2 separate regions of the Homo sapiens genome follow, and region 1 is linked to region 2. Evidence: promoter capture Hi-C in 16 types of primary human blood cells and fetal thymus (Javierre and others, 2016). All regions are on one chromosome and are shown on one strand. The core of a region is centred on a gene start or on the middle of the fragment in contact, and the rest is flanking DNA. Distances in the headings are between cores, read along the strand shown.

Region 1 (2,810 bases), core at 4-2,503, 7.5 Mb before region 2:
TGCTGTGAATTCTCAACCAGATTACTCACTTTTTAGATTATTCTCAGCAAAATTTTAATCCAAGTTGGCTTCCTCCTGCTACCCAGAGTATTTCTTTGTCACCACCTTCTACCACTAGTAAGCATTTTTTTAATATTAGCCTAAATAAAACACAATCAGAAAAATAAACCTATAAAAACATGATAAAATGCATTCCAAATAAAATGTTTGGAACATTTAGCATGTTGGGATAATATGATTGGAATGGAAGAGAGGTCTTTATAGTGAATGTTCTATTTTGATAGATAAACTATATCTAAACATTGTACCAGAGAGCTATGGACACTTAAGGATAATCTACTGTAAAGGTCTTGAGACCACACACTCTAATCAGAAAGAACTTCATAATGTATCTTGCTCAAGTTAAGTCAATTTTAAAACCATATATTTAAGCCATTATATGCATCAGTTTATTGTTCATTCATAAAACTAATTTTATAAGCACATAAATTGTAAATTTCTGTTACAGTTAATGTTTCATTACCACTGTGAGAGGAGATCCTTAAAAAACAATAGTAAGTCCTATTGGTATAAGTCCTTTTTGATTATTCTTCTCAAACCAGTAAAGTTTTGACATTAGGCACGATTATTTTATCACTTTGTATGTTTTAGAAAAAAAAAGTGAATATATCCACTCCACTCTGTTCTTTAGGAAAAAAGTAGCTTTTCCAAGTACAAGAGATCAACTAACTTGATCATCTTTTTTAGGCAATGATTGAACTTTTCATTTCACAGAGCATAATCCATCATTTTTTAAATTTGGTTCCTTAGATTATAAAGCTAAAGATGCTAACTCTTATGTAAAATTTTTTTACATAAAAGTTGTTACTGTTTCATTTTTTTATTCTAAGGAGTATCAAACTAACTACATTTATAATCTTTGTGAAAGTTTTCAAATCTCATTCATTTTTATGATTCCAATTCCACTTGAGATTCTAGGAGAAAACCTGTGAATGCTCACTACATACTGAAGATTAGAAAAAAATCTAGTAATTTCACTAAACTGCAATTAGGATTTGGACCCAATGCAAATGTGCACAACATAAAATTTCCTATACATTCTATAGATGTAGGAAGTTTATTAATTATATTATTTTGTAAATATATATTATGTATTTAATTTGATTTAATCACATTACATAGGTTGAATTTGGGGGTTGCTTTTAAAGTGTTGAGAGTTTAGTGTTTATTTTTGTAATCCAACAACTTTATCCAAAAATGCAGAAAATTTTTCTGGCTGGCCAGGAGGATAACATTTCAGTGTTGATAAGTCCATTGACTGTAACAGCCCAGGAAGCGTGCTAAAACAAAAGAAGAAAAATATTAGGTAACATGGGAGAAAATTCCATACTTCATCTGCTGCCCACTGATGACTGAATCTAACTTCCAAGAATATAGTGGTACTTCTAAAAACTGCACATGTGAATTTTTATATATTTTAATAAGTATACATACTAGGATTATTAAAGCAATACAAAGAGTACTATAAAATGTCAATATAAATTCAGCAGATACCTTATCTCCTATGTCAACTGATATATTTCAGAAATGATATTTCATGAAAAATGTCTTCACATGGCTTTGTAATACTTCTCAGGACTGGGCATATTTAAACTGAAGCACAATTCATTCATGAAAACAGAATTTAAAAATTGAAACCAAAAGTAATAGCTGCCAGACAAGATAATAAGCTGGGGAAACTACTAGACCATGCATGAAGACTGTGAAATAATCTTTGCCAGTAATTTACTATCATAACTTCATATACAATTAAACAATATACCACACCACCATGTATGCTGGAAATAAGGTTTTAAACATAGAACCATTACATCGGAAATTTATTTAAACCAATCGCTTAAATTAGAACAAACATACTACCCCCCAGCCTAGGTCTGGGGAAAATAAATGATTTACCTAAAATGAAAATATAACCAATTATTGGCTGGGTGTGGTGGCTCATGCCTGTAATCCCAGCACTTTGGGAGGCCAAGGCAGGCGGATCACCTAAGGTCAGGAGTTTGAGATCAGCCTGACCAACATGGAGAAACCCCGTCTCTACTAAATATACAAAATTAGGCCAGGCATGGTGGTGCATGCCTGTAATCCCAGCTATTCGGGAGAATTGCTTGAACCTGGGAGGTGGAGGTTGAGGTGAGCCGAGATCGCACCATTGCACTCCAGCCTGGGCAACAAGAGCGAAACTCCGTCTCAAAAAAAGAAAAGAAAATATAACCAATCAATTACTGATTCTTTCTCACTGCTTACTGCTTTTATGTGACTTTCTTGAAATTAATATAGAAAAAAAGACATTTAAAACTGTAAAAAAATAAAAATAAAATAAATTGGAGACTTGTACAGTTTCCTTCCTTTTCAGCATGAGTAAAAAGTCAGGATATGTTTATGAAATCAGTGTTTTCCTTTTAATGTACTAACACAAAATCAAAGCTGATTTAACATTTAGAATGAAAATACTAATTAAAAGTATCTGGAAAAAATTGACTTGCATAAAGCAGTTAGGAAGATAAGTTTATTCCTCTTTAATCTAGCTTCTCTCCTGACTCACTAAATAGTTCAAGACTGGCTTCTATGTTACACAGCCACCCTGACATTCCCTCTTCTCCAACATTATAGTGATAAGGACACCAACAATTTCACTCCTGAAATAATCAATGAATCTGCCTCCTCTCAGTTAAGAACAGGAGTCTTTGTTTTGTTCACTGATGTATACCAAGTGCCTAGAACAATGCCTGGCACATAGAAGGTACTCA
Region 2 (3,079 bases), core at 291-2,790:
AACTTGGATCAGAAGTCAGAACTAGATTTCTTAATTTATCTCCAGTATTTTCCATAGCTGAACCCCTCTCCTAGAGCCTTAACCACACACCCCCCCAGCCCTTTGTATATGTATCTCAAATATCCACCTATGTTAAAACTTGAGGCTGTATCTAGAACGTCTTCAACCCACCCCCCAAGATTTGATCTAACACGTAAATGCTTGCATGAGAGAAGTCTCCAGAACACTACCTTCTACTGAAATCAGTTAGGAGGAGATACACCCTCTGAATAAATTTGTGTAAGTCAGTCCATCCTAAGCCTTACTCTGTCTCTTCAAAGGGGAAGGAAACCAAGGGATATGTCATATGAAGGAATCCTCCAGATTTAAGCTTACCAATTTTGGCAGAGCCTAAAGCGCTAAGGCAAACAGTTAATAAAGGAGGAGGAAAAAAAGAGAGAATCGACTAGTTTCCTAGCGCTCAACTAAAAAAAAAAATGGGGTAGGGGTGGTGGCGGCGGGGGGAACAGGACTGTGAGACAGATTAAAAATAGGGAAAATGAAGCTTCTAGCTTTAAATGTTCCACCTTTCAACGCCACTTTTCAAAAGATCTATGGATTGATCTTGAGCCATCCAAATTCCTCTACAGCGTACCGGAAATGGAAGGGGTTAAACTTTTGCAGATGGATGCAAACAGGGGCGTATCTAAAAATCAAGGGTGGGGGTTTGGGATTCGTAGGGTACAGATGGGGGGAGGGAAGGGAAGCAAGGGAGGGAGAAGGTAGGGAAGGGAGGAGTCGCTATAGCCAGAATATGAATGAGGAAAAGAGAGTAAAACGCCGGTCGAAAGGAAAATAGGAGGGCAGGGGTGAAAATAGGGAGGGGGGGCAGGGAAGGAGGCCGGGAATGAGCGCTGGTCGAAAGCAGGTGGGGGAGGGGGCGACTGGAAGCGCAGCCCGGGACGAAGGATCAGGAGCGGGGGGCGACCAGAAGTGGAAAATCCACCCCTGCCCTCAGGTGCAGTTCGTACCTGTTGGTGTGGAAGCGGTGGAGCGGGTCGGTGCGATGGCAGGAGGACAGCTGGCAGCCGAAGTCGCTGATGTCCAGGCAGCCCGGCTCCTCGCTCGGGCAGGTGCCCACCCCGCGAGGAGGTCCCAGGAGTGGGAAGGGCTCCTCGGGGGTTAGAAACTTCTCGTAGGAAGTGATGGCCGAGGCCTCGTCGGACATGGTTGGAGATGGCCTGGCTCGGGCTCCCTCTCTGGCCCTGGGCTGCTCCCGCGCCCGCCCCTGCCCCCACTCTAACCTGTCCGCAGTCGCCGACGCTCCGGGGTGTGCCCGTCGCAGCTCACTGGCAGGCTGGGCGTCGCGGCCCGCTGCTGCTTGCCGGGGTGCGGGGCCGCGCGAAGAGGCTGCTCGAGGCCACAGCGGCCCACCGGCCACCCAGTTAGCGCCCCGGTGGCCTCTGCAGCTTCCGCCGCCGCCAGACTCAGCCCGTCAGCGCAGCGCCGCCGCCCGGCCCGGCCAGGCCCGCCCCGCCCACTGCGCTCGCCGCTTGCGACTGCAGCAGTCTGCCCGGCGCCCGCAAGGAGGGGAAGGGCGGCGGGAAGCCACTCCCCGTGCCCCCTGCTGGACCGGAGGAGGAACTGAACCTCCGCCCGCCGCGGCCCCAAGCGGCCCGCCCCGCCCTCTACGCATCGAATCAGGGATTCAGGCCGCTAGAAAGGCTAGGCGCCTCTGGCCAACCTCCTCCTCCGCTTTCTCACTCGTACTCGACTACTAAGCAGGAACCGCAGTCCCAGAAAAGGGACTTGGCCAAGGTCACACTGCGGGTGCGTGAGAAAACATCCAGATGCCCTGGTTCCCAGCGCACTCTTTCATTCTGTCCCAATTCAACAAGTATTTATTGAGCTCCTGCAGTGTGTGCCCAGCACCGTGCAATGAGGTGTAGGAGAAATCGTCCAAGCAGGGAAAATAGTCCCTTCCTCACCCTTGATCACCTAACTCCAAGAACCCTACGCTGCAGCCACTCGCCTACTCAGAGCTGCTGGACACGTCGTACTCTTTTGTGCTTTGCGCCTTTTGCTCATAGGCACCCTGCTTGGAATGCCCTGCCATTTCTCCCCTGCTAATCCTTCAAACTCCAGCTCAAACGTTATCTCCTCAGTGAAGCCTTCCCTGACTCCCAAAGGAGACTAAGGCACACCTGCTAATTTGCCCCCTCCCTCCCGTAGAAAATATATTATGGAGCTTAACTTGTTCAACTTGAATCAACTTGTTAGGTGTTATATAGTGTACTTTGCTGTTTATCTCATCTCTCTTCTCTATATTCTGGGCAAGTGATTCCTGTTCTTGGATGCGTAAGATTAAAAAAAAATAGAGGAAACCCCAAGATTACTAATTTCTTACTTTGCCCAAAGAAGACAATTTTTAAAACTACCTAATATTATTTTATAAAAGGAAGCACATTTTCATATAAGAGCATAATTCTTCAATAAAAGCAATTCTTTGCATTAACTATATTTATGAAGAAACTACATTGATCCTTCAGGAAAGCATAGAACTTAAATAGGCGGAAAGGAGGGGAAAAATGAAAGAAGGCAGGAGGAAGAAGAGAAAGAGGGCAGGAGAAGTGGGGGGTTGTCACTAAAACAAGCCCCATTCAGTATTAAACTCTGTGCCTTGCCCTACCAATGCAACTTATAGTGAAAACAGCTTCTCCAACGTGCCTTTAAAATGTATACATTATCTTGCTTCAGTTACTTGGTTGTTTGACTGTTGAGCATGCCGGCTTTCTTTCATTGAGATTGCAAGAAGGTGTGTTGCATTGTGTATGTGGCTTTCAAAATGAATCATTCATTAATATCTAATGAGGCTGACCAATTTAAAACTTGTGGAAGTGAGGCTGATGATGGTTTGTTCTATGGTCCCTAATGCACCAATCCCCAGGGGTCTGAGGCCAGTGAGGCTGAATGGGCCATGGCTTAGTCCCCAAAAACAAGAGACTTGATTATCCAAATGAAACAAGAGTCAAGTGCTGCATGATAATGCAGGCACTCAGGTAATAGCACCAGGAACTGTTAATAAGAAGCTAACGAAATA

Evidence for each region. Contacts are between HindIII fragments. The CHiCAGO score rates a contact against its expected background, and 5 or more counts as called.
Region 1: a contact is called between a fragment that was not itself captured here and the fragment with the promoter of FAM199X in region 2, in 1 of 17 cell types (neutrophils). The highest score is 5.4, in neutrophils.

Annotation. Positions count from the first base shown.
Region 1 is chrX:111,686,417-111,689,226 of GRCh38, reverse strand. The region is part of intron 3 of ALG13 (ALG13 UDP-N-acetylglucosaminyltransferase subunit); the gene reads right to left. Among named protein-coding and RNA genes, the nearest start is that of ALG13, 6.7 kb to the right of the region's middle. The HindIII fragment of the contact is 3,634 bases long and covers 1-2,810 here.
Region 2 is chrX:104,164,914-104,167,992 of GRCh38, reverse strand. FAM199X (family with sequence similarity 199, X-linked) reads right to left here and starts at 1,540. Exons shown (of 6, transcript NM_207318.4): 1 at 1,011-1,540. The coding sequence starts at 1,207. RefSeq lists an enhancer at 1,198-1,698 and a silencer at 1,263-1,752. The HindIII fragment of the contact is 4,401 bases long and covers 547-3,079 here.